Regions from separate parts of the Homo sapiens genome. Here all the other regions are linked to region 3. The links are contacts of gene promoters, found by promoter capture Hi-C in human tissues and cell types (Jung and others, 2019). All regions are on one chromosome and are shown on one strand. Each heading gives the region's core, a stretch centred on a gene start or on the middle of the fragment in contact. The rest is flanking DNA. Distances are from core to core; before and after follow the strand shown. Region 1 overlaps MACF1 (microtubule actin crosslinking factor 1). Region 2 has its middle 21 kb from the start of PABPC4-AS1. Region 3 holds the start of NT5C1A (5'-nucleotidase, cytosolic IA). Region 4 overlaps LOC105378667 (a long non-coding RNA gene).

Region 1 (2,700 bases), core at 201-2,700, 210 kb after region 3:
TTGGCGGTTATAGATTTTTTTTTTTTTTTTTTTTTTTTTTTGAGACAAGGTCTTGCTCTGTCGCCCAGGCTGGAGTGCAGTGGTGCAATCTCGGCTCACTGCAACTTCCGTCTCCCTGGTTCAAGTGATTCTCCTGCCTCAGCTTCCAGAGTAGCTGGGAATACAAGCGCCTGTCACCAGGCCCGGCTAATTTTTTTTGTATTTTTAGTAGAGACGAGGTTTTGCCATGTTGGCCAGGCTGGTCTTGAACTCCTGGCCTCAAGTGATCCACCCATCTTGGCCTCCCAAAGTGCTGGGATTACAGGCGCGAGCCACCACGCCTGGCCAGAAATACTTCTTAAGAGCAAAAAAATTTATGTCTTGATTTTTCCTGAAAAATAATACATATCCACTTATAGACTCCCCTACCCCAAATGCAACGAAAAAAGGTAATATTCCCCATTTCAAATATACCAAAAGGCATAAACATAATATTACAACCACCCACAGTCCTACCACTCAACTCAAGAATATACTCATCCACTCCACAATTATTGGATATTTAGATTATTTCAGAATAGTGACAGTTTGGAATAGCATGAAGTTTTCCTATGTTTAGATTATTGTCTTAGATTCTAAACAAATTGCTATACAAAGGGAAGTGTGACTATTTATAGTAGTCACAGTGATTTACTAAAACACAGACCAAATCATATTGTTTCCCAGCTGAAAACCTCTGGTTAACCACTGTCTTTTTTTTTTTTTTTTTTGAGACAGAGTCTCACTCTGTTGCCCAGGCTAGAGTTCACTGGCACGATTACAGCTTACTGCAGGCCTTGACCTCCCCAGGCTCAGGTGATTCACCTCAGCCTCCCAAGTAGCTAGGACTGCAAGTGTGCCACCATGCCTTTGCCACCTGCCTCCCAAAGTGCTGGAATTACAGGTGTGAGCCAAGCTCCTGGCCAGCTTCAGAAAGACTGTTTAGCTAGAATATCACAGCTTCTACAAAGTGCAAGGAATCCAGGTGTGACCCATGTTTGGAATGATGACTAGACTCACTGGATGCTAAAATGCCATCGATAAACTCCTGACGTGTTATCTTCCCATCCTGGTCCTTATCAATGCGCCGGAAGAAATCCATCACTCGAGACTTTTTGTGATTCATCCAACGCATATACTTTTTCCTCCAGACATCAAAGTCAAAGTTGGCAAATTCTTTCAACTACACAGAAATCAGAAGTGTCAATAAGATTTATTTTTTGGGCCCTCAAAAGCTGCCCAGAGCATACCCAAACTTTCAGACATTCAGTAAAGCCATGCTTCCAGGGGCCATCAACAATGAAATCTATGTGTTTGCTTCTTTTGTGAAGGCACAATCTGGCTCTTTCACTTAAAGCCATGACTATTTACACGAGCTATGGTATAATGGAATAGCAAGAGAAACAATAACTGAATCACCATGGAAAATATGGAGCACACAGAATGAGAATGGGTGAAGCCAGCCTTGCTTTCCCTTTGGGCTTTTCAAAGGATCACTCTCTTAGATGCAAGGAAATGGATTCTAACCCAGAAGGGAGGTCCTTAGCACTCCTCGATTATGTTGTTTTGAAAGGCATTATAATCACACATAGGGCTCATATCAGGAGGCTCGTGTTTACCACTATCTTCTGAGATTTCAATGAGAAAATCTGAGTTCTGGATGGAAGCATTGGGAACCCAATGTTGTATCCAAGCATGTTTCTTTGGAATGGCACCAGAGAGCAAATTGCCCATCTGACCTCCATGTTAAATATTTGGCCTTGATGGAAAACAGCAGGCCTATGCAGTGGGCAAGACAATTTTCAGCTACTTAAGTCTACGTTAATGATATACACTCAAAATGACTTAAAGAGTGCAGCAGTTTCCCCTTGGTCTTTCAAACTCCAAAGTTAGAAGGAATGGGGGAAAAAAGCACCAAGAACCCAATAAGCTTAAAAGTCAACTGACCTAAGGAAAAAATAAACAAAACACAGAACACTCACTTCCAGGCATAGCTGCTTTGATATGCACAAATAAAAAAATACAAAAGATATTAGAGGCTTGTTTTAGAAACTAGGAAGCATAGTACTATATTTTTTATACTGGGTAATGACACTTCAAAATAGAGTTGCTTCTCATGATCAAGTGAAGACTAATAACAAAATCATTAAAAATTACTCCTATTTCATAATTCTGTAGCATCTGTTTTTACATGAAAGGCTCAACAAGGGTCATTTTTGTGCTATGCTACATATCTGGAGATAAATTTCCAAAGTTCTGTTCCTGATTCCCAACCACAGCAAGATGCTGAGGCAGATCAGGTCCTGGCCCTCATTATGGACTGGCTGTTTTCTTGCTTTCCACACCTAGAAGCTTTAGCCTACTCTGTCACAAACGGTTTTCTTACACATGTGTCTTTTCTCATTCAGGGGCCTCAAAGAATGAGTACTGGCTTGGTATAGGTCTGTTTCTATTGTGAAAAAGTAAATTAAGACACAAGGTTCACATTAAGAGAGCCTCAGAAGGGCTGTGTTTTGATTGAAAAAAGCACTTTGTTTCAGGGAAGGCCACTCAGCAGGGCATTACCTCCTCCAGCCGATCCAAGGCATCATTCAGTTTCCTTTGCCGCTCCAGTGCTAACAGCCACACCTGCTGCCAGCGGGCAGAAAGCTGGTTGATCCGTGGGTTTTTTGCTTCAGACTG
Region 2 (6,276 bases), core at 3,201-5,700, 130 kb after region 3:
CTGAACTAAGGCTGTAGAGCTCCAGGATCTGTGTGCCTTTTACACTGTGGGTATCCCTCCCCCGCTGGCTAGCCAGTTCCTCAAGGGCAGGGGCCATATCTATCTAACTGCCTATCTATTTATTTTTTATTTTTTGATTCAGGGTCTTGCTCTGTTGCCCAGGCTGGAGTGCAGTGGTACCATCACAGCTCACTGCAGCTTTGACCTTCCAGGCTCAAGTGGTCTTCCTGCCCCAGCCTCCCAAGTAGCTGGAACTACAGGCACACCACCATAACCAGCTACATTTTTCATTTTTTATTTTGTAGAGACAGGGTCGCACTGTGTTGCCCAGATTGATCTCAGAACTCCTGGGCTCAAGCAGTCCTCTTGCCTTGGCCTCCCAAAGTGCTGGGATTACAGTGTGAGACACCCCACCCAACTATATCTATTTAAGAATCCCAGTACTTGGCCTGATAGCTCAATACCTGTATGTTGAACTATTAATCCAAAAAAACAATAGAGTTGGCCGGACGTGGTGGCTCACGCCTGTAATCCCAGCATTTTGTCAGGCCAAGGCGGGCAGATCACGAGGTCAGGAGTTCGAGACCAGCCTGACCAACGTGGTGAAACCTGTCTCTACTAAAAATACAAAAGTTAGCCGGGCATGGTGGCACGTGCCTTTAATCCCAGCTACTCAGGAGGCTGAGGCAGGAGAATTGCTTGAACCCAGGAGGCGGAGGTTGCAGTGAGTTGAGATCGCGCTACTGCACTCCAGTCTGGGCGACAGAGCAAGACTCCCTTTCCAAAAACAAGCAAATGAAAAAATAGAGTTTTCTCTATCACACAAATGGGAAGGTTTGTATTGAATGTTATATTTATCCTCTATCCAGTCTTGTCTTGGAGCACAAAGCAAAAAGGCCCAGCATCCTCCACTATCTTCTGAAAACTTGCCCTCAGGCCTGAGCAAGAGGGCTGCCCGGTTGCTTCCATGTAGCCAGCCAGCATATGTGCAGGGCCAAGTCTAGAGGGAGGAGGGGGTGGCACATGGATGGTTTCGTTTAATTGGAAGACAGTGGGTAGATTGGAGCTGGCATTTGAAGATGTTGAGAGTTGTGGATCATGGGCAAGAAAAGCGCTGTTCTGGGACTGCGGGGCAGGAGAAGGAAACTGATGCTTCTGAGGGTGAGTCTGATGAGATAACATGCCTGTGTGTGGGCCTCAGGTTAGACAGTGCTGAGGTCTCCCGTCACTGGGCATCCAGCTGGGTGCTACGGCCGTGGCTCCTGCCTTCTGCAGCCCTGTCAGGGCCCAAGGCCTTCCTCATCAGCACTTGCTCCAGCCTACTCACTGGAGTTGTGTTCTGGGTGGGTGTGTAGAATACTCGCACTCCTACTTGGGGCATCAGGGAGCTCTCTAGCAATTTCTTCTGCACCTAGGGAGAGCCCACTGCTAAAAAAGGCCTAGTCAAATCCTCAGGTGTACATGGACATCAAGATTGGGAACAAGCCGGCTGGCTGCATCCAAACCCTCCTGCGTTCCGACGTCGTGCCCATGACCACAGGTGAGCGGGACACCATGGTCAGGACGGTGGGACACTGGTGGCTGAACAAGATGGGGAGGAAGCTACCTGGGGTCCTGGGCCCTTAACACTATTTCCATCTGAGGCGTCTCAGATCCCAGCATCTAGTAACAAATGAGGCACAGCAGGCATTTTTGAAGCTCTATAAAGGCTTAGAGCCATTAGAAAGGGTAGGCAACTAAAAGTTCTAAACAGTTTTAATTATCCTCTGGTTTGGTTTTATTGTTGGGTTTTTTTTTTTTTGTAATTTTATTTGGATATATTTTCAAACTTACAGATATATAGAATAAGAATTCTGTAAGAATATTTCAAGGGGCCAGGTGCAGTGGTTCACACCTGTAATCTCAGCACTTTGGGAGGCCATGGTGGGAGGATCACTTGAGTCCAGCAGTTTGAGATCAGCCTGGGCAACACAGCAAAAGACTCCATCTCTACAAAAAATACAAAGTTAGACGGGTATAGTGCGATGTGCCTATAGTTCCAGCTATTTGGGAGGCTGAGACAAGAGGATTGCTTGAGCCCAGGAGGTTGAGGCTGCAGTGAGCCATAATTGCACCACCACACTCCAGTCTGGGCAATAGAGCAAGGCCTTGTCTTAAAAAAAAAGAAAAAGAAAAAAGAAAAAAAGCAGTTAGGGGAACTCTCATATATCCTTTACCTACTCATTAATTTCCTTTTTTTGCCCTGTATGCTTTATCATTTTCTTTACATACATTACACACAGATGCGTATATGTATTTTTCCCCTGTTCCAGTCGAGAAGTTGAAGACCATGCACCTTTACTGCCAAATACTTCAGTATATATTTCCTAAGAACCAGAATATTCCCTTGCCTAATCAGAGTACAACTATCAAAATTATAAAATGTAACATTGAGTGATGAGCTATATTCAAATTTTATCACTTGTCCCAATATTGTCCTTTTTAGTAATTTTTAGCAATTTTTCTTCCCTGACAAGGATTCCCATGTTGATTTAGTTGTCAAGTCTCTTTAGTCTCCTTTTATTTGAAACCGTTTCTTAATTTTTCATTGTCTTTTTTGATCTTGACATCTTTGAAGAGAATAGGCCAGTTGTGTTTAAGGGTGCTCCTCAGTTTGTATTTGCCTAGTACTTCCTCATGATTAGATTGAGGTTATGTGTTTTGGCATCAATAGCACAGAAGCAGTGTGTTAGTGCATCGTTTGAGGAAGTACATGATGTTATTTCAGATATTTGCAATGTTAATTTTGTTGACTTGGTTAAGGAGTTATTTGCCAAGTGTCTTCACTGGAAAAAATGCTATTTTTTTTTTCTTTGAGACAGGATCTAGTTCTGTTGCCCAGGCTGGAGTGCGGTGATGTGATCACGGCTTACTGCAGCTTCAACCTTCCAGGCTCAAGTGATCCTCCCAGCTCAGCTTCCCAAGTAGCTGGGACCACAGGCATGCACCACCATGCCCAGCCAATTTTTTATTGTTTTTTGTACAGATGGAGGTTTCACTATGTTTCCCAGCTAATTTTTTTTTTTTTTTTTTTGAGACGGAGTCTTGCTCTGTTGCCCAGGCTGGAGTGCAGGGGCGCAATCTTGGCTCACTGCAAGCTCCGCCTCCCAGGTTTACGCCATTCTCCTGCCTCAGCCTCCCAATTAGCTGAGACTACAGGTGCCCACCACCACGCCCAGCTAATTTTTTTGTATTTTTAATAGAGACGGGGTTTCACCATGTTAGCCAGGATGGTCTCGATCTCCTGACCTTGTGATCTGCCCGTCTCGGCCTCCCAAAGTGCTGGGATTACAGGCATGAGCCACCGCACCCAGCCCTTTTGTATTTTTTTTTGTAGAGATGGTGGGTTTTGCCATGTTGTCCAGTCTGGTCTTGAACTGGACTCAAGTGATCCTCTTACCTCGGCCTCCCAAAATGCTGGGATTACAGACATGAGCGGCCGCACCCAGCCAGAAAAGTACTATTTTTAAGGGTATCAATCAGAAACTAAAACTTTCTCTCCTTACTATTCAGCCCATCTCCCAGAGGTAGCTACAATTGACAGTTGTGTTTTCCTTTTTTTCTTAAGTATTCATGATGACCTTTTTTTACCCATAATCTTTTTTGTCTTAATCTAGCTTTTAAAAATGTTTCTTAAAGTCATAATTGCACATAGTTTAAAGAAAATCGTTCTATAATAAAACATTCTTCTGCTCCCCCAACATAATTTTTCTGCCCTGCCAGAGGCAACATTCATTTCTTTTAACTATTTTAATTATTTGGGCTTTTATTGCTATGTCTCTGAAAAATATACTCATATTACTATTAGTAATCCCAGACTGGAGTACAATGGCATGATCTTGGCTCACTGCAACCTCCGCCTCCCGGGTTCAAGTGATTCTCCTGCTTCAGCCTCCCGAGTAGCTGGGATTACAGGCGCCCACCACCATGCCCAGCTGGTTTTTATATTTTTAGTAGAGACAGGGCTTCACCATGTTGGCCAGGCTGGTCTTGAACTCCTGACCTCAGGTGATCCACCCACCTCTGCCTCCCAAAGCGCTGAGATTACAGGTGTGAGCCACGGCGCCTGGCCTCCCTCCTCTGCTATCCATTTTAGATACCTCTCATCCTCACCTCAGCTGGTTCCTCTGCTAATCTAAATGGCTTATCAGGTGGGGTGACCTAGACCTTTGTCTGTGGGGATTTGAGCTCCTGGTCATTATATACCTTCTCAGGTCATCGCTGCCTAGCATAATTGGGTGGGGGAGTCCAAATGTTTATTCAGTTGTCCTAAGACCAGTTTATAGAAAGTCCATCTTTGACCCAGTGATTTAAGATGCCAAGCTTTATGAAATATTTAATTCCTTTATATATATATATATATATACACACGCACACACACACACACACACATATATATGCATATATACACACACATATACATACATACACATATATATACATTTTTGTATATGTGTGTGTGTGTGTGTGTGTATATATATATATATTTTTTTTTTTTTTGAGACGGAATTTCACTCTTGTTGCCCAGGCTGGAGTAAAATGGCATGATCTCAGCTTACTGCAACCTTTGCCTCCCGGGTTCAAGTGATTCTCCTGCTTCAGCCTCCCGAGTAGCTGGGATTACAGGCACATGCCACCATGCCGAGCTAATTTTCTGTATTTTTATTAGAGATAGGGTTTTACCACATTGGTCAGGCTGGTCTTGAACTCCTGACCTCAGGTGATCCACCCACCTCGGCCTCCCAAAGTGCTGGGATTACAGACCCGAGCCACCGCACCTGGCCTATGTATATATTTTAATAGAGATGAGGTCTTGCCGTGTTGCCCAGGCTGGTCTCCAACTCCTCTGCTCAGGCAATCCTCCTGCCTTGGCCTCCCCAAGTACTGAGATTACAGATGTGAGCCACCATGCCTAGCTGAAATACTGAATTTTCATACGTTTCTGGGTCTATTCGGGACTTTCTCTTCTTTTCACCTAGTCTGTTCTATCTATTTGTGTGCCACTTCCACACTTAAGCATTTAGTTTAAATAAAGGTACTATGTACTTTTTTAGATTTGGAGAGCTGGAGTTTGGGGGTGTGTGTGTATTTTATTTCAGAGACAGGGTCTCACTTTGTCACCTAGGAGTGTGCCACCATGCCTAGCTAGTTTCTGTATTTTTAGTAGAGATGGGGTTTTGCCATGTTGGCCAGGCTGGTCTCGAACTCCTGACCTCAGGTGATCCACCCACCTTGGCCTCCCAAAGTGCTGGGATTACAGGCATGAGCCACCGTGGCTGGGACCCAAATGATTATTTTTATTTTTGTAGAGATGGCATGTTACAGAGAGCTGGAGTTTTAATTATCTAGTTAGATATTCTTACCTCAGCACTTTTCTCTTTCTCAATCCCAGAGAATTTTCTCTACATGTGCACCCATTTAAAGGACTCGGCTTCAAGGGAAGCAGCTTCCACCGCATTATCCCCCAGTTCATTTGCCAGGGCAGTGATTTCACAAACCACGGTGGCACCAGGGGTAAGTCCATCTACAAGAAGAAATTTGATGATGAAAACTTTATCTTCAAACACACAGGACCAGGTAGGAACCACTCATCGTGTGGTGACAAGGGAGGCTGGGCGAGGGCAGCTGGCCGTGCAGGGTGGAAGGATGAGCCGTGGTTCTGGCTGAGAAACAGGGAATCTGGAGGAGACCCAGCTACCAGACACAGGAGAACCGTTCAGCCTTGCTAGGGTGGAGTTAGCTTTGGGCTTTGAAAAGCTTTTCTGTTTTTTATTTTGGGTTATTTCAGTTCCCATTTGTCTCCTTTCATTAAAAGAGGAAGAAGCATAGACGCCTGGGTCTGCTCCTACAGGGGTGTCTTGTTATTGTTTTTGTAACTTTTTATTTTATGTAATGTCAAGCTCACGGAAGAGTTACAAGAATAGTGCGATGAACCCCATACACCTTTGCTGGCATTTACTCAAGTTCACCAGTTGTTTATATTGGTGAACATCATTTCCTATTTATTCTCCTTCTGTGTATTTTTATAGACAGTGCGTATTTTTTTAGAGCCATTTGAAAGTAAGTTGGAGAGTTCATGTTCCTCTACCACTAAATACTTCAGCATGTATTTCATAAGAAACAGGGTATTTTTAATGTTACCAGGACATAGTTCTCAAAATCAGAAAACAAACACTGCTACAATACTATTCTCTCAACTGCAGTGCATATTCAGATTTCCTCATGTGACAGCACGTC
Region 3 (6,341 bases), core at 2,699-5,198:
GCCTTCTCAGCCACGGGAGTGAATCCAAGTCAGAATGTGAAAAGAGATTAAAAAAAAAACCGGCTGGGCACGGTGGGTCACACCTGTAATCCCAGCACTTTGGGAGGCCGAGGCGGGTGGATCATGAGGTCAGGAGATCGAGACCATCCTGGCTAATACGGTGAAACCCCGTCTCTACTAAAAATACAAAAAAATTAGCCAGGCATGGTGGCGGGCGCCTGTAGTCCCAGCTACTCAGGAGGCTGAGGCAGGAGAATGGCGTGAACCCGGGAGGCGGAGCTTGCAGTGAGCCGAGATCGTGCCACTGCACTCCAGCCTGGGCAACAGTGCAAGACTCTGTCTCAAAACAAAAACAAAAACAAAAACAAAAAACCCATGAGCTCTGAGCTTCAGAGGAGGAAGCGTCTTACCTGACTGGGGAGAGGTGAGGAATAGGTAAAGAGCAAAGGGCAGCCATGGCTTCATGGAGGAGGTGGCATCTGCCCCAGGTCTTACTAAACATTAGCCAACAGGGCCAGGCATGCTGGAGCAGGGCTCTCCAAGGGAACAGCCAGGTGTGGGGCTCCTGGAGTCATGCCCTACAGGGTCTGTTCCCAGCTTATTCATCTGAAGAAGTGCTGGACCTGGAGGCAAAGTCCTGGCTGGAGTCCAGAAACCCTGAGCCAGGGAAGCCCTGCACCCAGCCAGCTATTAGCAAGTGACAGGCAAGCCAGAGAGCATGGCCAGAAGCCTGGAAGGGTGGAAAGAACAGTTAAGGATCAAGTTCTCTAATCCTTCCAAAGAAGGATCTGGGGAAAGTTCTTTTTTTTTTTTAAGACAGAGTCTCGCTCTGTCACCCAGGCTGGCACGCAGTGGCACGATGATCTCGGCTCACTGCAACCTCTGCCTCCCGGGTTCAGGCAATTCTCCTGCCTCAGCCTCCTGAGTAGCTGGGATTACAGGCGCACCCCACCACACCCAGTTTTAATTTTTGTATTTTTAGTAGAGATGGAGTTTCACCATGTTGGTCAGGCTGGTCTTGAACTCCTGACCTTGTGATCCACCCACCTCGGCCTCCCAAAGTGCTAGGATTACAGGCATGAGCCACCGCACCCGGCCCGGGGAAAGTTCTTAAAGGGACTGAACCAGGAGTCTGGGCAGGATTCCTTGATGGCAAGGAACAGTGCCTACTCATGGCAGGGTGAGTAAAGGGGAATGGATTAGTTGGGACTTTTGGTTGCAAGTGAACGAAATCCAACTCACACAAGCTTAAGCAAAAAGGGAGGCTTATTGGCTCATGTAATTGGGAAGTTCAGGCATGGCTGGGTCCAGAAACTCAGTTGCATCCTCTCTCCCTCCCTCCTTCTGCTTCTCTCTCTGTGGCACCATTGTCCTTCCAGATGTGCTTCTTCCATGTTCTTTCACCTGCCAAATGGGTTCCCAGCTCACATTGCCCCAAATTAACAACCTCAGAGAAAAAGAGCCAAATCTCCCAGAAGCCCTAAATAAGAGTGAAGAGTGTCTCAGCTGGGGTCACATGCTCATCCTTGTGTCCAGGGACACAGGGCTCCGCCATTGGTCAGGTCTCAGTTACAGGTCTCTGTACCAGGTCTGGTACTTCTTGACCAGAAAACCAGGGAGGCAGGGCTTTTTATTAGAAAGAGAGGCCGGGAAAAGTGGCCACTCAAGCAAAACCACAATCCACCAAATTTCCTTTTGGGGGCATTTGTTGAAACAATGTGGAGAATCTCATGAAAGTGTAGAGATGGGCACCAGAGCCAGGCCTTAGCTAGAACTTGGGAAACTGTCAGGAGCAGAGGCGGCTCCATCTCAGGGCAGCATGGTTTCTCTCATGTGCTGCTCTCTGCACATCCTTTCCCATCTTGATCTGCTGCTCATCTCATTCTGCTCAGAGAGTCTCCACCTGCGCCGAGCTTTACTTTGCATATAACTGCAGTCTGCTGAGGCTCACCCAGGTCTCTTCGGAGCCAACTGTATTTCACAGCATCCTCAGCTTCTATTCCAATGGTTGACTGCCCAGCCCATTTCCCAATTCCAAATTCCTGAGAAAGACAAATCTGCTTGGCCCAGGTCATCTTTTCAAGCCAATCACACAGATTAAAGGCCGCTGGACAGCATGGGGGTGGCTCACTTTTGTGTGAAGTGCCCACCTCCATCCAAGTAACCACTCTATGTATTCTTCCTGAGTTACTTCATCATTCTTCTCCATGAGGCACCTGAGAATAATTGACCTCATTCCTAGAGTTTCAATTATTTATTGCAGTGTAACAAGCTACCCCAAAACTTGGTGCCTGAAACAACAATTTATTATTTTTGATGATTCTGTGAGTTGGCTGGGCTCAGCTGGAAGGTTTTACTGCTTCAGGTTGTGTTGGCTGGCGTCACCCACATAGCTGCACTCCACTGGGAGCTGAGCTGGGGCTGGGACAGCCAGGATGGCCTCATTCACATGTCTGTCAATTGTGCCTATAGTCACCTGGGCTGTCGCTAGCTTCTTATCCTCCAGGTCCTATCTGTCTCACTACGTGGCCTTTCCAGCAGGATAGTCCAGACTTATTTACATAGTAGCTGGCTCCCAAGAGGGCAAAAATGGAATCTGCAAGGCCTCTTAAGACGTAAGCTTGGAAACCACAGAGCACCACTTCTACTCCATTCAATTGGTCAAAGCAAGTCACAGGGCCAGCTCAGACTGGACTCCACCTCTGAATGGGAGGAATGTCAAAGTCACATTTCCAAAGGACAGGCAGGATGGAAGAGGTTTTTGGGCCATCTCTGGAAACAATCTTCTAGAAGTAAGTCTAAACACACTTCCCCCAATCCTAACATTTTATTATGATTTTTCCCTTCCTCCCACACAAGGGTTGGTTTATTCCTCCCAGGACCTGGTGGAGGCTGAGGGGATCACTCCATTCTGTAGCCCCCTCACCTCCCCAGTCAGAGGCCCTCCTAGCTAAGCCAGTGTTTTCTCCTGCTTCTCCCACCCACCCATGCACACCTCTGAGAGAGGCTGTCTGCTTCCTGGCCTGTACCTTGGGATGGGTGACATTTGTGTCTGCACCCTGAGACTAGTACAGAGCTCTGCATCAAGAGGGACAACACCCTGGAATTCCAGGATGGTAGTTCCGAGGCCCCTCTTCTGCCCTCCCTCTATCCAGCCCCTTCATGGCCTATAACAAATCACCCCAAGCTGGGCAGGTGGGGGCCTAGGAATGCGCGCCCTCTGCTGACCACCAAAGGGCCAGCAAGAATTCGGGTTCAGAGTCCCTGGGAGTCTCTCTGGCCTGGGTCCCCACCCCAGGCCAAGGTCTCGACCTGAGACCACCCGAGCCTGGTCTCAACATGGACTTCAAGGGCCCCTCCTAGGTGGTGTGGAGGAGCTGCCGGGTTGGGCCCTTCACTGAGCTCCCGCTGGGAGCAGGCTTCTGCTAGTGAGAGGAGCCATCCATGCATCACCTCCTGCCCGTCTGCCGGATGGACTGGCCTCGGAGGGAAGGGGACATCGTCAGGATCCCAGGGTCCTAGCTCCTAAAGGAAAGATGGGCAGCTAGCTTTTGGGAGGGGAGCGGCTAGCTTTTCATTTTGTCCTTTGGGGATCACTATCCTGGGGGAAAAAAAAAGTTGTCAGGCCTCTCCTGTCTCCGCGCCCTGCAGCGCCTGCGAAGAACATCATTTTCGCAATCCCCAATCCGCTGCAGCCCACAAACCCAGAGAGCCAGAGAGCCCCCCTCACCACCCAACCGGCTGCTGGCGTGGGTCGGTCGGGGAAGGAGAGCCCAGCTATCCCTCATACCGTACAGCAGTAGCAGCAGCAGCGGCAGCGACACACGGGCGACCGAGAGGGCCAGTGTGACCTCCCCCCGCCCGGCGGGCGGGGAGCCCAGCTCACACGCACAGCCTCCTCGCCGCTGCCCGCCCCCTTCCCTCGCCGGGACTCGCCTCCCTCCTGCAGCCCAGCCCCAGCCACCTCCGCGTCTACGCCGCCGCCTGCTCTGGCCGGGCCGGGTCAGAGCCGGAGCATGGAACCTGGGCAGCCCCGGGAGCCCCAGGAGCCCCGCGAGCCCGGGCCAGGAGCGGAGACCGCTGCGGCCCCGGTCTGGGAGGAAGCCAAGATTTTCTACGACAACCTCGCGCCCAAGAAGAAACCCAAATCGGTAAAAGCAATGCACGGGTATGCGGGGGACGGGGGAAGGGTTACCCCGGAGGAGGGGTCATAAGTCTCTTGGGAAGGGACCCGTGGCGCCCCTCTGGGAGGGGACGCAGCTCCTCAGCCCCAGAATGCGCCCTGCAGCTGGCGCGGGCTCGGGTTTATTTTGGGAGCTCTGCTCTGGTGTATTTTTTTACCGGGACTCGGGTTCCACGCCAGGCTCCCCCTCCCCCATGCTGTCATCAGGGCCCAGCTAGAGGCCCGCAGCCCCAGCCCCTCCCCACTCGGGCCGCCGGGGAGCGCGGATTGCACTTGTTGGCGAAGCTGGTCCGCAGCGCTTCCAGAAGCGCCCCAGGCGCGGGTAACCAGACTTTGGGAACCCGGTTCCTGGCTGTGCGCTCCGGTCTCCGCCATCTGGGCATCGGGCTCCGGACCTGAGACTCTGCGTTTGGGGTCTGGCTCTGGGTCCTGGGCCCTGGGCTGGGGGCAGTGCGCTCCCCGCGTCCTAAGGAAAGGGAGCTGCTCTCTCCAGGCACTGGGATCCACACTCTGCGCTGGGGGGCGATCGGCGCCCCTGGCCGCAGGCTCCCAGCGCTGGACTCTGCCCCCCAGCTCGGGTTCTGCTCCCCTTGCAGTGGGCATTAACATCCCCACGACCCTGTGGTGGTGTCAACCGTCTGGGACCTCACAGAGGAGCTCTCTCCTCTCTGCCATCAAACAAGTTGATGATGCCCTGGTCTGCCCCTGGACCTTGCTGTCTCCAACTTCCCAGATCTCAGAGCTTGAGGAGAAAACCGAGAATAGAGGTTGGCCCACAGCGGTCCTCCAAAGAGCTCCAGCTTGATCTTAAAGCAATTTGCTGCTTCCCTCCAAGAACCCTTCCCCAACAGGTCCACCCTATCAGCAATCATTCAATTAGCACCTCCAAGCTCTGCTCAAGAGTGGGGATTGAAGAATTAAATAACCTGAGTCCCTGCCTCAGGAGCTCACTGCACAATGATGGAGGCTCCAGAGATGAGAGCCTAGGGGAGTTGGGGGGGGAGTAGAGTAGTGACATCACACTGGGGAAAGCTTTGTAGAAGTGGCACGTATCCTGATCTTAAAGCCTGAGTAGGTGGAGTTTCCCAGGGAGAGGGAAACAGGACAGGCAAAAGTCATGCAGATGTCTCTGAAGCTCAGGACTGTGTTCCTGAATAAGTACTGAATGAAGAATGCAGGATTGTTGGAAGAAGAGCTGGAGGGATGTGGAAGAGCCCACAGAGGGCCTTGGGGATCATGTTAAGGAGTCTGGACCTTACTCAAGGGGGTCAGGGATTTCCAAACTAGCTTCCCCAAGCCCCATGTTTCAGGGAGTCTGCACACATGTGAATCCAATTTATTTTCTTTCTTCTTCGGACTATGTTTTAAACAATTAAAAATGTGTAATAAAACCCAACTCACTCTAATGTATTAGGTGGACATTTTAGCAGCTTGAAGGCCACTAGCTTGTGCTGCAGATTTTTTTAAAGCAAAGCTCAGAATAAGGCTTCCCCTGTGATCTGTTCCATCAAAGAGCGTCTTGAGATTGTAAGGCCTTTAGTTTAAAACAAACCAAAACAAAAAACCTTTTAGCATTTCCAACCACTTATTGGTCTGAATCAGGACTTTCTCAATACTGTACAAATACAAACACAGCAACAACTTGGCCGGATGCTGAAGCTTAAGTCTGCACTGGCATTCTAGCCGCTAGTTTCAAATTTGTTGTCATGCAAACAACTGTGTTGTTTTCATTGGTTGACTTTATAATAAATAAATAAATAAATGTAATGCATTTGAATCTGTAAAATAAATAAACACCAATTATATATGTTATATCTGGTACCATATGGTATGAGATATATGGTAATATCTGGCTTACATATTGAATTCAAAGTTTATTTGAATTCATTTAAATAAAAGGTCAACCTACATTTAAACAAACATATGAATACCATTATGGAGCTATTACAGGATTTTTCATCAGGGGATTAACTGGGTCCCATTTTTATTTTAGAAAGATCACTCTGGGATGGATTGGAAAGGGTGAGTCCGGCAGCAAACCCACCAGTGAGAAGGCTGGTGCCTCTCTGAAGAGGAAGCTGGATGAATGTCAATGCTGTGGCCTGAGTGATGCAGAAGAAGGGATGGAGACTGGGGACTGGGGCAGTGAAAGCATCAG
Region 4 (6,360 bases), core at 1,192-3,691, 160 kb before region 3:
CCAAGGCAAGCAGAGCCCTCCAGTCCAGGTATCCAGAGCCTCCAGTCCATCACACCAGCAGTGCTATCTAAATGGCTTTGGCAATTAATTCCAATACTCAGTGAGCTATTAGGTTCATCTGCTTCTGTCAGTAAAAATCTTGATTAGGCTTTAGATACTTCTCACAGTTCAGGCAGTGCTGTTGTAAGTGGGTAGAAAGTACTTTGATTCTGAAGAGAGATCTAGACTTGAAAATACTTTGCTTGATTCTTAGGGCTAAGCAAGAGAACAGCTCATCTGTATTCCAGGAATATGGCTTGATCCTTCCTAACTCTCAGTAATTTTTTGTCCTCTCTTAGCTCTCTTTAGTTCCAAAGAGGATTTTTTTGCTTAAAACAAAACAAAACACCCAGTATAACATTAAAAAATAACAGTCCGGGAGTGGTGGCTCACGCCTGTAATCCCAACGCTTTGGGTAACTGAGGCAGAAGGATCACTCAAGCCTAGGAGTTTGAGACCAGCCTAGGCAACATGGTGAGACCCAGTCAGCACAAATATATACATACATACATACTTACATATATATATATGTATGCATGCCGGGTATGGTGGGTCATGCCTATAGTCCCAGCTACGTGGAAGGCTCAGGTAGGAGGATGGCTTGGGCCTGGGAGATTGAGGCTTCAGTGAAACATGATCATGCCACTGCATTCCAGCCTGGGTGGCAGAGCAAGACCATGTTGCTCAAAAAGAAAATAAAACTAACAACCCCCTCCCCCAAACACACATGCATGAAATCAACCTTTTATGAATGCAGTGACTTGTCAATATCCCTAGCACCTAGACACAGTCAAATATTTGTTGAATCAATTGCATGAAAGCATAAAAACTAAGTAGGTCTCTACATAAGTGATCTGCTTCAATTGTTAAATACTTTTTAACCAGGATGAAGAAATTTTGGGATAGCCACCAGCAGGAATTTCTGTATTTGATTATCACCTACTTGGGCAGTTAAGGCTGTTTTCTAAAATGATGGCTAACTGGTTATTTGTAAAGCTACTCTGAATGCTTACAAAGGAAGCTGCATGTTTGTATTAGTTCAGGTAAAAGGCTAAGTTGCTATAACAAAGAGACTCAACAATACAGTGGCTTAAAGAACAAAGAAGTTTATTCTTTCTCACGTAACAGCTCTGAAGGGAATTAACCTGTCTGAAGTGAGTGATCCAGGTCATTGGGGCAGCTGTGCACCAAATGGTCATTCAGGGACACAGATTCCTCGTATCATGTTGCTTCTCCATCCTCTGGAGCATTGTCCTCATCTGCTGCATGCTTGAAGCTGGGTCATCACTGGTCCTAGCTGATGGGAAGGGGAAAAGGAACAGGGAGGAGGTAGACCCGCTGCCTCAAGGCCTGGACCCTGCAGTGGCACGGATACTTCTGCCTACATTCTCACTTTCCATTGGCAATGACTTAGCCCGATGGCCACACCTACCTGCCAGGAAGGCTGAGAAACGTAGTCAAGCCATGTGCCAAGAAGGAATGGGAGGACAGGTTTTGGTGGGCAACTTACAGTCACCACTAGATTGGTATCATGGAAGGAGCACTCAATTCCAGGCTCATTTAACTAATTAATTTAACTCAGTTTGCTAGGGGCAAATCTATTTCTCCATCTGTGAAATTAGTGAGTTGTATTGAGCTGACCTCTGAAATATTTCAAAAAGTAAAGCTTGAGAAAATCCTGGCTGGTAGGACTTTAAGATGAGAATAAGAAAGCATTATAGGGAATGGGAGACTGTATAAACATCAGGGCCAGTGGCTCATACTGTAAAGATGGTGGGGAGGAAAGATGGAAGGTGTTTTGGTGGCATTGTTGAATAACTGAACTAATGACTTAACTGCCTACTTTCAGACTTTATGTGGCAGGGAGGGGACAGGGGGAGAAAGAAACCACTATTTGTATTTGCAGCTGAACACTTTACTTTCTAATATACTATCTGTGTGATCTTGGGAATATTGCTTAAAAGCCTGTTTCCTCATGTATAAAATGAAGTTATCTGTATTCCACGGGACATGGTAAGGATTAAGTGAGGTCCTGTTGTAAATAGCATAGTGTTTTGGCACTGTAGTGCCCAGTAAATGGTAAGTACAAATTGGATTTATTTGCTTCATTGGGGAAAAATTGTTAATGCTATTAAAATGTTGGTTTATGATATGGTATCATTTCTTGGAAGTTATCAGGGCAAGCTCTGACTTAAGACTGACTAGTTTGGTGGACTATAGTACTAATGGCCAGAAACGGTGCCTCGGGCTTCAGCTGCCACCCACCTAGGCTTCAGCTGTTAAGTTTTGTTTGTTTCAATGATATGATTTCTTCCATGGGTCAGCTCATTTGCTTGAACTGTTTTCTTCCCTTGAAATGTCCTTTCCCCTGCTCTTTACCTAGTGAACTCCTGCACATCCTTCAAGGCCCAGATCTGATGTCCTCTCCTTAGAAAAAGCTTCTTTGACTCTAGGGAGACTTAATTTCTCCTCCTAGCAGTTAATACGTAATAGTGTTAACATTAGCTGGTGCTTAGGTAGTCCTATGAGCTAGGCACTGCTTTAAGCACTTTTACACATATTAACTCATTTAATCCTCACAAAGCCCTATGAGGTAGTTTTGTCATTGTTCTTGTTGTCTCTGTCTTACAACTGAGGAAACTGAGTAGAGCAGTTAGGTGACTTTCCCAAGGGCAAGCTGGGATTTGAAAATAGGTGGGTGGCTCCAGAGTCTGTTCTGGCTCATTATTTTGCCACAGCTCATAGCACCTGTTATTTATCTCTTGTTCCCACTGGAAAGTAAATTCTGCCAGGATCTGAGTACTATTTTAAGATGATTGTGGAACATATAGTGGGCACCCAATGTATATCGAGGCTAATTTCTGCAAGACACACCTCCCTGTCTAAACGTAGACATGGCTTCTCTGTGTTGAGTGCTTCTGTGTGTCAGGCATTATATCAAGCACATGCATACGTTATAATGATTCCTTAAAACAAACGGACAAGATAATCTGTTATCACCATTTTATAAACACAGCTTAATGAACAGTGGTTGGCACAGAGTAAACATGCAAATATTTGCCGAGTAGCAGAGATAAAGCTTGGTGAGGGCAGCGATGTTTGTCTGTTGTTCACTGCTTTATCCCTGGCATCTACAAGGGCCTGCTGCTTAAAAGCACTTATTTGTGTTTTTGTTTTTTTACTTGAAGTCAGCCTTTTATTTTTATCCAGATTTATTGAGATATAATCGACAGATAAAATTATATATATTTAAACTATATAAAGTGATTTTATATATGTGTATATATGTATGTGTGTATCTATCTATCTATCTATCTATCTATCTGTCTATCCATCTATCTATCTATACCACCATCAAGTTAGTTAACACATCCCATAAACATTTGTTGAGCTAGGATTTGAAGCCAGTTTGGGCTGACTCCAAACTCATACTCTAACCACAACCCTCTACTTCTGCAAGGGCATTTCTTTAGGGTTTTTGAATGTACAAATTTAGGGTTTTTGAATGTACAAATTATTTATATCCCATCTACTTCTAAGAAAGAATCAAAGGAAGAAAAGGTTAAAAAAAAAAAAAAGAAAAGACTGAAGAACTAACTCTTGTACAAAGATGTTTATGGCAAGAATCATGGTTGCAAATGAAACAACTCTAACTTAAGTAAAAAGGTGGATTTATGATTGGGTTAATGAGGTGTCTCATCAAATTCAAGGGCAGGAAAGTATCTAGGCTCCAGCCACAACTTGTACTACCCAATCTGAGGCTTTAGAGACTTTCTCTTTTCTCTGCAAATCAGCTCACTCCTCTCTCACTGTAAACAGGCTTTCTCTACATGGCAGGAGACAGGGCTGCTAGTAGCACCTGTGTTTCACCTCTTATGGCCTTGACAACTGGGGACAGATTGTGCGGATGTTTTCTCTGGTTCTAAGTTCAAAAGCCCTAGGACACCCCGTACCCATTAGAATGGCTGCTATAAAACAAAACAAAACAAATTAACCCAGAAGATAACAAGTGTTGGCAAGAATGTGAAAAAATTGGAACCCTTTGCACTGTTGGTGAGAATGTAAAATAGTACAGCTGCTGTGGAAAATAGTATGGCAGTTCCTCAGAAAATTAAAAAGGGAACCGCCATATGATCCAGCAGTCCCCCCTCTGGGGATATATCCCAAAGACCTGAAAGCAGGGTCTCAGGGAGATACACCCTTGTTCTGCATAGCAGCGTTCTTTACAATAGCCAAGGGGTAGAAGCAGCCCAGTTGTCCATCAAGAGTGAATCTAGGCCGGGTGTGGTGGTGCACACCTGTAATCCCAGCACTTTGGGAGGCTGAGGCGGGTGGATCACCTGGGGTCAGGAGTTCGAGACCAGTCTGGCCAACATAGTGAAACCCTGTCTCTACTAGAAATACAAAAATCAGCTGGGTGTGGCGCAGGCCTGTAATCCCAGCTACTTGGGAGGCTGAGGCAGGAGAATCACTCGAACCCAGGAGGTGGAGGTTGCAATGAACCGAGATCACGCCACTGTGCTCCAGCCTGGGCGACAGAGTGAGACTACATCTCAAAAAAAAAAAAAAAAAAAAAAGTGAATCTAAGGGCTGCACATGGTGGCTTGTGCCTGTTATCCCAGCACTTTGGGAGGCCAAGGCAGGAGGATCGCTTGAGCCCAGGAGTTCAAGACCAGCCTGGGCAACACAGTAAGAGCCCATCTCTACAAAAAATAAACAGATTAGCTGGGTGTGATGGTGTGTGCCTGTAGTCCCAACTACTTAAGAGGCTGAGGTGGGAGGATCACTTAAGCCCAAGAGGTCAAGGCTGCAGTGAGCTGTGATTGTGTCACCGCACTCCAGATCCTGGGTGACAGAATGAGGCAGACCCTATCTCAAAAATAAATAAGAGTGAGTGGATAAACAAAATGTAAGTACATATGATGGAATATTCACCCTTAGCAAGGAAGGAAGTTCTGACGCATGCTACAACTTTGAGGACATTATGCTGCATGAAAGCCAGTCAGGCCGGGCGCAGTGGCTCATGCCACATTGGGAGGCTGAGGTGGGAGGATTGCTTGAGCCTGGAGTTTTGAGACCAGCCTGGGCAACAGAATGAGACCCACCTCTACAAAAATAAAAGAATTATTACCCAGCACTCGGGGATGAGAGGTGAGATGATGCTTGAGCCCGGGAGGGCAAGGCTGCAGTGAGCCTTGGCGCCACTGCACTCCAGCGTGGGCAGCAAAGCAAAAAAAAAAAAAAAAAAAGCCAGTCACCAAAAGACAAATATGGTATAGTTCCACTTACATGAGGTATCTAGAATAGTCAAATTCATAGAAACAGTATGGTGTTGGCTGGGGGTGGAGGGAAGGGTAAATGGAGAAGTTTAATGGGATAGAGTTTCAGTTTTGTAAGATGCAAAAGTTCTGGAAATTAGTTGCACAACAATGTGAATATGCTTAACACCACTGAACTATACGCTTAAAACTACTTAATACACTTTCATACTGTAATACACTTAACATTACTGAACTATAAGCTTAAAAGTGAATTTTACCACCATTTTTTAAAAGTAAAAGTCCCAGGAAAGGGATCTTTTAGCCCAGCTTGAGTCTAGTGCTTATCCTGAGGCCCATCAGCCAGTCTGGAGATGGATTCCTGAAAGGACAGGACAGTTCCCATGGAAAGGATGGAGTGGAGGTGGAGTGATTCCCAGAGGAGAAGGGTGAGCGGGTTGGTAGGAGGGGAGGGCACCTGGGCAGACAAGCATTTGTGTCCACTGTGGAGTTGCTGTCTGCTAGTCAGTAAGACACTTGGTTTTCTAGCAGCAGGGCTGAGCTTAACTAAGTCCATATGCCTTCTGGGTGGTACTTGCCATTATCTTCATCATGAGATATCTGTAGTAGTCATTCCTTAGAAATTTATGGCCCAGTATGGTTTTAACAAAACTACATATCTTGTTAGTATTTGCCAAAAACATTTGAGGTCGTTTCTACAAATGAAGAAACAGACTCACAGTATTTCAGTGACTTAACACAGGGTTGGTGTTAGTTCAGTTGTAAGGGATTGAAAGCCAGTTTAAACTAATTTAGGTATAAAAGACGATTTGTTGGCTTATGGAATCTAAAAGTCAAACAACTGAGCTTCTCCTGAAAGGACAGGCAAGGTGCAGCTGGGCCTCAGGAACAATTGCTCCCAAGGACTCAGACACTACCAGCACTGCCTCATCTCTTCTCAGCGTGCCGATTTCACGTTTCTCTCCATGCAAACCAGCTTTCTTCACGTGGTCGTGGTCATTGGAAGCTGCCACACCTCACATCTTACAGCTTTTCTTCACTG

Evidence for each region. Contacts are between HindIII fragments. The study calls those that stand out against the background at their distance.
Region 1: a fragment that was not itself captured here is called in contact with the fragment with the promoter of NT5C1A in region 3 in 4 of the 25 tissues and cell types used here (dorsolateral prefrontal cortex, hippocampus, mesenchymal stem cells and 1 more).
Region 2: a fragment that was not itself captured here is called in contact with the fragment with the promoter of NT5C1A in region 3 in 1 of the 25 tissues and cell types used here (dorsolateral prefrontal cortex).
Region 4: a fragment that was not itself captured here is called in contact with the fragment with the promoter of NT5C1A in region 3 in 1 of the 25 tissues and cell types used here (mesenchymal stem cells).

Annotation. Positions count from the first base shown.
Region 1 is chr1:39,459,133-39,461,832 of GRCh38, reverse strand. MACF1 (microtubule actin crosslinking factor 1) reads right to left here. Exons shown (of 101, transcript NM_001394062.1): 91 at 2,584-2,700; 92 at 1,039-1,201. Among named protein-coding and RNA genes, the nearest start is that of BMP8A, 31 kb to the left of the region's middle. The HindIII fragment of the contact is 6,947 bases long and covers 1-2,700 here.
Region 2 is chr1:39,540,997-39,547,272 of GRCh38, reverse strand. It overlaps the pseudogene PPIEL. Among named protein-coding and RNA genes, the nearest start is that of PABPC4-AS1, 21 kb to the left of the region's middle. The HindIII fragment of the contact is 4,869 bases long and covers 2,016-6,276 here.
Region 3 is chr1:39,669,714-39,676,054 of GRCh38, reverse strand. NT5C1A (5'-nucleotidase, cytosolic IA) reads left to right here and starts at 3,948. Exons shown (of 6, transcript NM_032526.3): 1 at 3,948-4,151. The coding sequence starts at 4,017. RefSeq lists a silencer at 3,756-4,165. The HindIII fragment of the contact is 3,595 bases long and covers 1,935-5,529 here.
Region 4 is chr1:39,832,853-39,839,212 of GRCh38, reverse strand. LOC105378667 (a long non-coding RNA gene) reads right to left here. Exons shown (of 4, transcript XR_947221.3): 4 at 1,258-1,336. It overlaps TRIT1 (tRNA isopentenyltransferase 1), which reads left to right. Exons shown (of 11, transcript NM_017646.6): 11 at 1-1,103. Among named protein-coding and RNA genes, the nearest start is that of LINC02811, 19 kb to the right of the region's middle. RefSeq lists a silencer at 2,110-2,310. The HindIII fragment of the contact is 3,796 bases long and covers 544-4,339 here.